Linked DNA regions of Homo sapiens: regions 2 and 3 are each linked to region 1. The links are contacts of gene promoters, found by promoter capture Hi-C in human tissues and cell types (Jung and others, 2019). All regions are on one chromosome and are shown on one strand. The core of a region is centred on a gene start or on the middle of the fragment in contact, and the rest is flanking DNA. Distances in the headings are between cores, read along the strand shown. Region 1 holds the start of LRRC69 (leucine rich repeat containing 69). Region 2 overlaps DECR1 (2,4-dienoyl-CoA reductase 1). Region 3 overlaps RIPK2 (receptor interacting serine/threonine kinase 2).

What was found. The method cuts DNA at HindIII sites, captures the fragments that hold promoters and counts their contacts. A contact is called where the count stands out against the background at its distance.
Region 2: a contact is called between a fragment that was not itself captured here and the fragment with the promoter of LRRC69 in region 1, in 1 of the 25 tissues and cell types used here (spleen).
Region 3: a contact is called between a fragment that was not itself captured here and the fragment with the promoter of LRRC69 in region 1, in 1 of the 25 tissues and cell types used here (lymphoblastoid cells).

Annotation. Positions count from the first base shown.
Region 1 is chr8:91,101,214-91,104,450 of GRCh38, forward strand. LRRC69 (leucine rich repeat containing 69) reads left to right here and starts at 1,406. Exons shown (of 8, transcript NM_001129890.2): 1 at 1,406-1,631. The coding sequence starts at 1,449. The HindIII fragment of the contact is 5,612 bases long and covers 1-2,384 here.
Region 2 is chr8:90,027,282-90,030,890 of GRCh38, forward strand. The region is part of intron 5 of DECR1 (2,4-dienoyl-CoA reductase 1); the gene reads left to right. Among named protein-coding and RNA genes, the nearest start is that of DECR1, 28 kb to the left of the region's middle. The HindIII fragment of the contact is 3,670 bases long and covers 473-3,609 here.
Region 3 is chr8:89,771,655-89,774,870 of GRCh38, forward strand. RIPK2 (receptor interacting serine/threonine kinase 2) reads left to right here. Exons shown (of 11, transcript NM_003821.6): 5 at 87-136; 6 at 1,013-1,174. Among named protein-coding and RNA genes, the nearest start is that of RIPK2, 15 kb to the left of the region's middle. The HindIII fragment of the contact is 5,414 bases long and covers 1-3,216 here.

The DNA.
Region 1 (3,237 bases), core at 156-2,655:
ATAGCCTGCAGAACTGTGAGCCAATTAACCCTCTTTTCTTTATAAATTACCTAGTCTCAGGTATTTATAGCAGTGCGAGAATGGACAAATACAAACCCCTATGTGTCTATTACTCAGCATTAATAATTATCAACATTTTGTCAATCTTGTTTGATCAGTTTCTTCCACCCACTTTCCCCCCTAGATTATTTTTAAAAAAACTCAAGATATCATTTTATTTCACTTGAAAATTTCAGTATGCATTTCTGAATGTTAAGCACATTTAAAATAAATACTACCACCATACCATTTTCACATGTAACAGAATTAATTTCTCTCATCTAATAGCCGATGAACAAATTTCCCTGAGATGTTTGTATTCAACTGAGGATTCAAATACAGTCCAGACATTGCATTTAGCTGTTATTTGCCCTAAGTTTCACTTACATCGTAACAGTTTTCCCTCCTTTTTATTAATGTCTTTCATTTGTTGGTGAAACCTTGTGACATTGGACCAGGGACCAGTCCTGTAGAATCTTCCATGTTATAGATTTGACTGTTTCCCTATAATGAACTTAACTTATTCTCTAGTTCTGTTTTTTTGTAAATGGTAGTTAGATCTTGAAGCCATGATTAGATTCAGATTTAATTTTTGGACAGGAACATTTCATAGGTGGTGCTGCTGTGTACTTTTTAATTCATTACTTCATAAGGCTTATAATGTGATTGTCTCAATTTTATTGATGCTAAAATGATTAGTGGGTTATTAACCTGATCACTTGATTATAAAGTTCCTCATCAACCTTTCATCTAATACTTTCAGTCTCCAATTATGATTTTTGCATAGCTCCATTATTTTATTAGAATTTGCAAAAATTGTGATTATTCTAGTTATTTTGTCTTTCTCATTTATTAGTTTCAATTCTTGTGAATAAGAACTTTATTAACTATTAAGTTATATTTAAGTGCAGTTTGTACTGGAAAAGCAGAATAAATGCTTATATTTTTTCCTTTATCAATTTTCAGACTGAGTTGGTGCGCTAGTAATTCCCAGGGTGAGTAATGTTTCTTTTTAAAAAATGCCATTATGAACTCAGATTTTAATGTGTTTTGATATGTTTCAGTCTATTCTAGATTATTTCTTTCTGATCCTTAATATTTTCCATCTTAGACTAGTGGGAGCTCCTAGAAGTTCACTTCTGTGTCCTCATTAATCTCTGATAGCTTTAATATCGCAGGCATAAGCTATTTTAGGCTTACATTATACATTTCCTGCCCCAAACCTGGACCATCTACTTTCCTTTCGTATCTTTCACATAGGAAAATAATCTAATGCTTCCCCCCTTCAACATGGTGGATCTCAGAATGTTCTTGTTTCTATGACACACCAATTCTGTAATTAGAGGTTCTAAAGCTGTATAATAAAGAACTCTAATGGTTACCTTGTTTTCTACTTCTTTTCCAAGATCATGACTGAGAGATTGTTAATAAAAGCATTGAGTGGTGGTAAAAATACGAAGATCATTACTTTGAATGGGAAGAAGATGACAAAGATGCCCTCAGCATTAGGAAAACTGCCTGGCCTGAAGACTCTAGTCCTTCAGAATAACCTAATCCCCAAAGTGTGTCCAGAGTTATGCAACTTGACCCAGGTGAGGAACAGTGTTTTGCTGTTGTGGTTTGGTATTGAAGATGGAAAACAGGAAGAGAGAAAAAAGGGGTAAGAGACAGAACAATAACACTTCGATCTATGGAGACTTAGGTATCTGGAGACTTAATGTGGAGTGTTGCTGGAGAGGCATCAGAAGGCTTTCTCCCTTAGGGAATTCCATGTGGTAGGGAGAGATGTTTCAATTTATTCATGTGCTCTTTGGCCCACATCTGGAGTCAGGGGACTAGGTCTCTGCCACACTCATCTTTTTAGAGGCTGTCATCTGGAAAGGGGTTGGAAACCTGGATCTGGTCGTCTATCTTGGGGGCTTACATCTGGAAGTAGTTTTGAGGATCCAGGAGATGCTGTTCACCCTGGGGACTGTCCTGAAGCTTTTGCATTTAGAATGAAGAGACATTTAGGATGCAGCAAGGGAGTTCCTTTTCAATTTCCTAGGGCAGGCTGAAACTTTGAAATGGAGTGTTGGCAGGGAATAGGAAGGAGGGGACATTTATTTCTCCTGAAATAGTCTTTAAAGGAAGTTTAATATTTTAAATAAAAAATATTCTTTTTTAAAGAGGAATAGTTGACATGAATGAATCCCATATGCTTGTGTTAAACCTTTCTGCCTAACAATGTGAAACTCTAGCTGCCAAAAATCTTGAGGTTGAGAGAAGGCAAGGGATATTAACTTTGTAATTTTCTTTTTGTTCACTGCTGAATTGTCATCAGCACAGGAAGAACCTAGAAGCAGCTAAGGCGTTATAGCTCATTAATTTTGAATTTACAGTTCCAAAAAATAAATCTGTATTTTCTTACTTTCACCCTACCTCATTTCCTTTTACGTTTAAGAAATTGAGTTTGTAATCTGTAGTTGTATCTTTATAAGAAATAGGGTAACTTTTACAAAGTCCCCCTTCATTAGTAATTGCAGAAGGTATACTTGTAGTTACAAGACAACAAGGACTTGGAATTTTTTAATAGGAAAGAGGAGTTTCTTTGCAAAAGAATTTGGGACTTGACTGAGTCATGAACCTATTCTCTCCCTCTATTTGAATTTATTTCCATTAAAGTAGTACTAACCATTGGTTACCGAGAATTAAATATTACAAAAAGCTTATAGCAAGAAGCTATCTTCTATCCCACTTCCCCTCATCCTCAATCCCGATCTCCATATATAACCACTTTTAACTCATCTATTTTATTGATTTGTCTATTTTTGGCATCATTTTTCTTCATCTTCTAGATACAGTTATATTAATGTATCTATTGTGTATTGATCCACATCTGGAATCAGGGGATTAGGTCTACAGGTATCTTTTACATGTAATGTTACTACACCTTTATTTCTTCCTTCATCAACTGCAGTCTCTTTTGACTCCCCACTTCGTAAGATGACAGTGTCAGCCTTTGTAATCCACCTTCAGCTGTCCTTTCCTCTCCCCCCTCACAAACTCTGAAGTTTTTACTTTTATAACACTTACAGCTTTTATATCCTATTCAGTTATAACCATAATTAAATATTTGTTTTGTGTCTTGGGTAACTCTAAACTTCTAAAAATATATATTACTAATAAATAAATATTCACATGGAGTCAATTAATCTA
Region 2 (3,609 bases), core at 1,058-3,557, 1.1 Mb before region 1:
ACTTTCCATCTCGTTGATCTGTCTAATGTTGACAGTGGGTTGTTAAAGTCTCCCATTATTATTGTGTGGGCGTCTACATCTCTTTGTAGGTCTCTAAGGACTTGCTTTATGAATCTGGGTGCTCCTGTATTGGGTGCATATATGTTTAGGATAGTTAGCTCTTCCTGTTGAATTGATCCCTTTATCATTATATAATGGCCTTTCTCTCTTCTGATCTTTGTTGGTTTAAAGTCTGTTTTATCAGAGACTAGGATTACAACCCCTGCTTTTTTTGTTTTCCATTTGCTTGGTAGATCTTCCTCCATCCCTTTATTTTGAGCCTATGTGTGTCTCTGCAGGTGAGATGGGTCTCCTGAATACAGCACACTGATGGGTCTTGACTCTTTATCCAATTTGCCAGTCTGTGTCTTTTAATTGGAGCATTTAGCCCATTTACATTTAAGATTTATATTGTTATGTGTGAGTTTGATCCTGTGATTATAGTTTTTTTTTTAAAAAAAAATCGTGAATAAGTATTGAATTTGTTAATATAAGCCTTCTTTCTACATTTATTGAGATGGGTATATTTTTAAGCCTGTTAATATGGTGAATTACATTAATTAATTTTTGAATATTGAACACCATTGCATTCCTAGGCTGAATCTTCCTTCATTTTGGTAAATTATCCTAGTTATATATTGCTAGATTTGTTTTGCTGAAATTTTCTTAATGCTTACTTTGTCATTTTCCAAGTGTTACTTTTCATTGAGCTTCTTAGCTTCTGTGCTTGCTTAGTTTAGTGATTAGGATTTGAGGGGAGTTTATATGCAGATGTTACCTCGTCCTTTGCACCTGCTCTGGCAGCTTTGTCCAACAGGTGATAGGTTGGCTACAGCCTTGCTTTGCGAAATTGTTACTTTAACCTGAATCCAACAAAAGCCTCTTGTGCCGCCATCAGAGGCATATTATATAAGTGTTCAACATAGTGTGATACTCTTCATATTTGGATTTTTTTTTAGCATCTTAAGTTACTTAACATTCAAGTTAAAATGTTGGCCTCATGTCTATTATTGTCTTAAAATTACATTTTGATTGTATCTAGATAAAACTATTTTTCTTAAAAAATTTTTTTTGCTTTTCTTGCATGTATTTATTGAAAAAATATATGACAGCCTACTCAGATATTGTACTTGATTTTGGACTAGCTTTGGTGTTGAGTCACATGGATTACTTTATACCAGAAAGCTAGAATTCCTTATACCTAAGAACATATGAGAATTCTATAGTGATTCCCACAAGTTGTATATTAAATAAAGGTATATGATGTAACAGGTGTTGGAATACAGAACAAGCAAAATGTGAAATATTCTTTTTAAAGACATTACCTAATTTTAACCAAATTTTCACTTATTTTTACTTCCTTCTTTCCTTCCTCCCTCCTTCCCTTCCTTCCTCCCTTCCTTTCTTTTTTTCCCTTATAAAAATCTTTCCTTCCTTCTTTTTTTCTTTCTTTCTTTCATATCTAATGTTTATTGAGTGCTTATTTTGTATCAGGCTTTGTTCTAAGTGCTAAATACTTATTAACTCATTTAACACTTGCAATGACCTTGCAAGTAAGTGCTCTTTTATTCCCATTTATAGACATGGGTGGAAACTGACGTACAATCTTTTTTTAATGTAGGAAGTGAATTTTTAACGCTCACATTTACAGATGAGAAACTATGGCTTATTAATTACCTAAGTGTTAACTATTACTATTAAAATCGACAATTGACATAATTTAAAAAATTAGTTGTTGTAAGTGGTCTAGTAGAGAAAAAGAAGGAACTGTGACTTTTTATTGTAGTCATAGTCACTTAGTTTACACCTGATACTTGGACAGTTAGTGAGTGACGATATTTTACTGTTATTCAGCTTTTTCATCTATAAAATATACTTGATAATAAATTACTACTCCAATATTTAGTAACAGAACAAGGCGTTAGGTGTAGAAGCCTCATGAAAAATATAAATTGTTTTACAGATGTACATGTGCTTTTTCTTACATGTGAATGGACATCCGATAGCCTAGCTAACATAAAGACTTTGGTGGAAATAACTTTTAAGAACCTCAGAGAATTTAAAACTAAGAAGTAGAAGCAACCCAAGGAAGCTTGAACCATATGGAGCTTGTGTTGGGGAAAGGGAAAGAGTGAAGTGAATAATCTTACCAGCAGCCTTGTGATAGAGGAAGAGAATAAATGTAAATCACCAACTGAAGAAAGAATAAAAACAAAGGACTGTTTTAGTTAATAGAGAAGAAGAAACAGTTTTCAAGGCCAGAGGCCTTGGAAGCATTGAACTAAGTAAAGTACATTATACTGTTTTTACAGTTTAATTAAATTATCAGAAAACACAAGATTTTTTAACCATCTTGCTGTTCTTCTGGAGTCCCTGATGTGTGAACCGTAAACACAAGAATAAATTTCAAAACATTCCTTTTTCCAACCCATAGACATTGTACTTGGCCAGTTACTCTTCCTTGTCCTCCATAATGGAGCACCCTCAGCCTGTCCAGTCTCTATACTAGCCCGTTTGACTGATCCAGTACACATGCCCTGATTAGAATCATTCTTTACCTGAGCCATAGAGTCTCCATTCCCAGCTCTAGTCCACTCCTCACTGAAGGATTACCAGTTCAGGGGCTAGCATGCATACTTTAGCACAGTGGTCCCCAGCCCTTTTGGCACCAGGGACCATTTTCGTGAAAGAAAATTTTTTCACAGACCAGGGGAAGGTGCAGGGGGTGGTTTTGGGATGAAACTGTTTCACCTCAGATCATCAGGCATTAGAGTATCATAAGGAATGTGCAAGCTAGATTCCTTGCATGTGTAGTTTGCAATAGGGTTTGCGCTCCTATGATAACCTAATGTCACCGCTGATCTGACATTAGGTGGAGCTCAGGCAGTAATGCTGGCTCACCTACTGCTCACTTCTTGCTGTGTGGCCTGGTTTCTAACTGGCCATAGACTGGTATGGGGCTGGGGTGTGGGGGTCCCCTGCTTTAGCACTTAAAAACATGCTACATCTAGTTATTGTTTCATGTTGTAAGTCTCCTTTTCCATCAACTCTCCGTCCATTACAAATTCTTTTATCAGGGTGCATTACTTCTGCCCTACCTGCAAAGCCTTTCCATTCCTTCCCCACCATTTCCTAACTCAACACTGAACACAAATGTGGTGCTTTGTTTATGCAGTGAAACATTTTGGAGACCTGCAAAAGGAAGGTGAGTTGAGTACATACTTAACACTTCTTTCAATTATGTCCTTCAACTTTACTATTGGAGGGAAAAGATGACCAGTCATTGACATGATCAGTTGGAATGGAAGCAAATGCACCTTGTTTCAGAAGTGGGAAGAGTAGAGCATAGCAGAAGGCTTTCCTTATTCGTCAGTAGTGTGAGTGCAAGGTGTATGTTGCTTAGAGTATATAAGAACCACATAAGTACATTTCTTTATATTGTGTCCAGAGATTTTGTTTTTTTCTAGAACAGTGGGTGCATCTAAAGAATATTTGAAAACACATTTTTAGTTATCAGTTGAAATTTATTAAGGTGGTATTAGTATCCTTTTGAAATCACTTTTTTCTAGA
Region 3 (3,216 bases), core at 91-2,590, 1.3 Mb before region 1:
AGTCAGCTTTTAAAAATAGTGCTATTTTAGTTTATTATGCAGAGTTCATTTAAAATATGTAACATGTATGTTCTTATGTTAAACAGCTATGCAGTTATCACATGGGAAGTGTTATCCAGAAAACAGCCTTTTGAAGGTAAGTATGGTTTGACTTTTTTATGCTCAATAACATCATGTTAGTAGGTCACTCTCAGAACTATCTAAAAATCATGTTATTTTAAATCTGCTTATTCATTTTGTGGAAAACACACTAAAACAACCATTTATCAGTTGTGAATGCATCACATACTGCAAAATATACCGGGTTAAGGATCCAGTTGTGAGTCTACTATATACTGGAAAATGTACTGGATTAAGGATCAGAAAAACCCAGATTTTAATTCTTGTTCTGACAGTAATTAGCTCTGTGATCAAGTCACAAATCTCTTGCGTCCTCATTTTTGTCGCCTGCATAATAAGAATTTTAAATTACTATTTCCAAGTTCTAGTCTAGCTGTAAAATTATTTATATGATAATTTAATTACTACCCCCTCTATAAAGACTAGCAAATATCGAAGACTAATCTGTCCTTTTTATTCCCTGAAAATATTGTTTATTTCTTTATTTTGAGGTTTGTGTAGGTCAGCTTGTTGTGTAACAAAAAACAACCTCGGAATCTCCGTAGCTTATGAAATAAACATTTATTTCTCATTCACATTAAATATTGGTTGCTGTAGCCCTTCTTAGTTCTGCAAGGTTTCGCTCAGCTCTGCTTTACAAATACTCTGTTGACCAAATCCAATCACATGGTCAAGCCCAAAATTAATGAGGTGAGGATATAAACTCATTCCATAGGAATCAGACAAGTCTGGCAATGGTTTGGGGTATATATATTCCTTTTACAGAAAGGGGGGTAAGGCATCATTCCTAAAATTTCAATATTCACTTATTTTCTTTTAGTTAGTTTTAGATGTAAGTAATATGCTTAATCATAATATATTACTAATGAATGCAATCTATTTGTTTTGACAGATGTCACCAATCCTTTGCAGATAATGTATAGTGTGTCACAAGGACATCGACCTGTTATTAATGAAGAAAGTTTGCCATATGATATACCTCACCGAGCACGTATGATCTCTCTAATAGAAAGTGGATGGGCACAAAATCCAGATGAAAGACCATCTTTCTTAAGTGAGTATATAGTTTTAACCTAGACTCTTTGAATTACAGAATTAGTTAATATACTGTGAATAAAATATTCCTTGAAAAATTGTGCAAATTAGATGACTAGCTAGAAGTTGTTTAAATTATTTTCTGTCTTATCATAGCATTTATATATGAGTAACTCCTTCTAGAGCAGAATTGAGAATTCCTAACAAAAAAGAGAAATCGTGTGATAGGAGTAACAATTTCTTTCATATATTTAACAAATATGTCTTAAACCCCTACCATGTGCTATGTATATACTGGAGTGAGCCCTGGGAACAGAGTAGTAAACAAGACAAACTTTCTGTAGCTAGTTCACATTCTAGTTGAGAAGGCAGAGTGAAAACAAATAAATAAGCAAGATACACAAATTGTGACAGTCTTATAAGGAAATAAGCAAGGTAATAGACTAATTAAGGGAGGGAAACAAAGGCCTTTTTTTAGGGGCAAACATTTGAGCTGACATTTGAAGCTTGAAAAAGAGCCAGTCATTCAAATGCTGAAGAAAGAGTATTCAGCCAAACAAAACAGCAAGCATAAAGGCTCTGAGCCTAGAAGAGGAAAAAGTTTTATATTCTCAAGAAACAGTGAGAAGGCCTGTGTGGCTGGAATACAGTGAGCAAGGAAAGGAATTAGATGATATTGGAGAGTTAAGAGAGAGGCTATTGGCCATCATAAAAAGGTTAGATTTTTATTCCAAGTGCAATGGAAAGCCATTAAAGTATCTTTTGCAGGGAAGTGACATGATCTGATAGAAGTTTAGGTGAAATTCTTACTGCTGTGTGGAAAGTTGATTGGAGAAAGACAAAAGTGGAAGCAAAGAGGCTAGAAAAGACACTTTCAGGAATATTCTAATTAAGGTGGAAATTCTGAAGACAGAAGAGTTACAGAATTAAGATAGTATTTCAGAGGTAGAATGGATCAGACATCCAAATGTAAATGTAGGAGAAAATCTTCATGACCTAGGGTTAGGCAGAATCTTTAAATATGACATCAAAAATAAATAGGATTCATTAAAAAATTTATAATCAGACTTTGCAAACATTGGAAACTTTTCCACTTCGAAAGGTACTATTGAGAAAAGAGAAAGCCAGGCATTTAGTGTCCACGACTTTAGTCCCAGGTACTTAGGAGGCTGAGGCAGGAGGATCACTTGAGCCCAGGAGTTTGAGGATGTGTAATAGTGCACTGTGATCGTGCCTATGAATAGCTACTGCACTCCAACCTGGGCAACATAGCAAGACCTCATTTCCAAGAAGGAAAAAAAAAAGCAGAGCCACAGACTGGGAGAAAATATTTGCATAACATGTATCTGCTAAAGGGCTTGATTCTAGAATATATAAAAAACCCTGACAAGTCAATAATAGGACATATAGCCCTATTTTTAAATGAGTAAAAGATTTGAATTTCACCAAGGGAGATATACAAATAGCTAAAAAGCACATAAAATGATGCTTAATATTATTAGTCATTTGGAAATGCAAATTAAAACTGCAATGAGTTACCACTTCATACCCACAAAATAGCTATAATTAAAGACAGAAAATAACAAGTGTTGACAGTGATGTGGCAGAACCAAAATCCGTATACATTGTTGGTGGGAATATAAAATGATGCTGCCACTTTGGAAAACGGTTTGGCAGTTTCTTAAAAATGAAAGATAAATTTACCATACAACCAAGCAATCCACTAACAGGTAAACCAAGAGAAATGAAAACATATGTTCACACAGTTGTATGTGATTAGTGATAGCAGCATTGTTTATAATAGCCAGCAAGTAGAAACGGTCATAATTACTGCTGCTACTACTACAACAATACATGAATCTGTTGTTCCAGGAAGAGTCCAGGATCCTAATATAAAATTGAACATCACTAACATATTGATAGTCTGGACTGGTTCATCTAAGAAGGGAATATACATAGCAAAGAGAGGACCCATAGTAAAGCTCTGAGGCATTCCAGCACTTAGAAATTGAGAAGAGGAAGAAGAAAAAGGATTAAGGAAGAGAAGACAGTAGAGAGTGT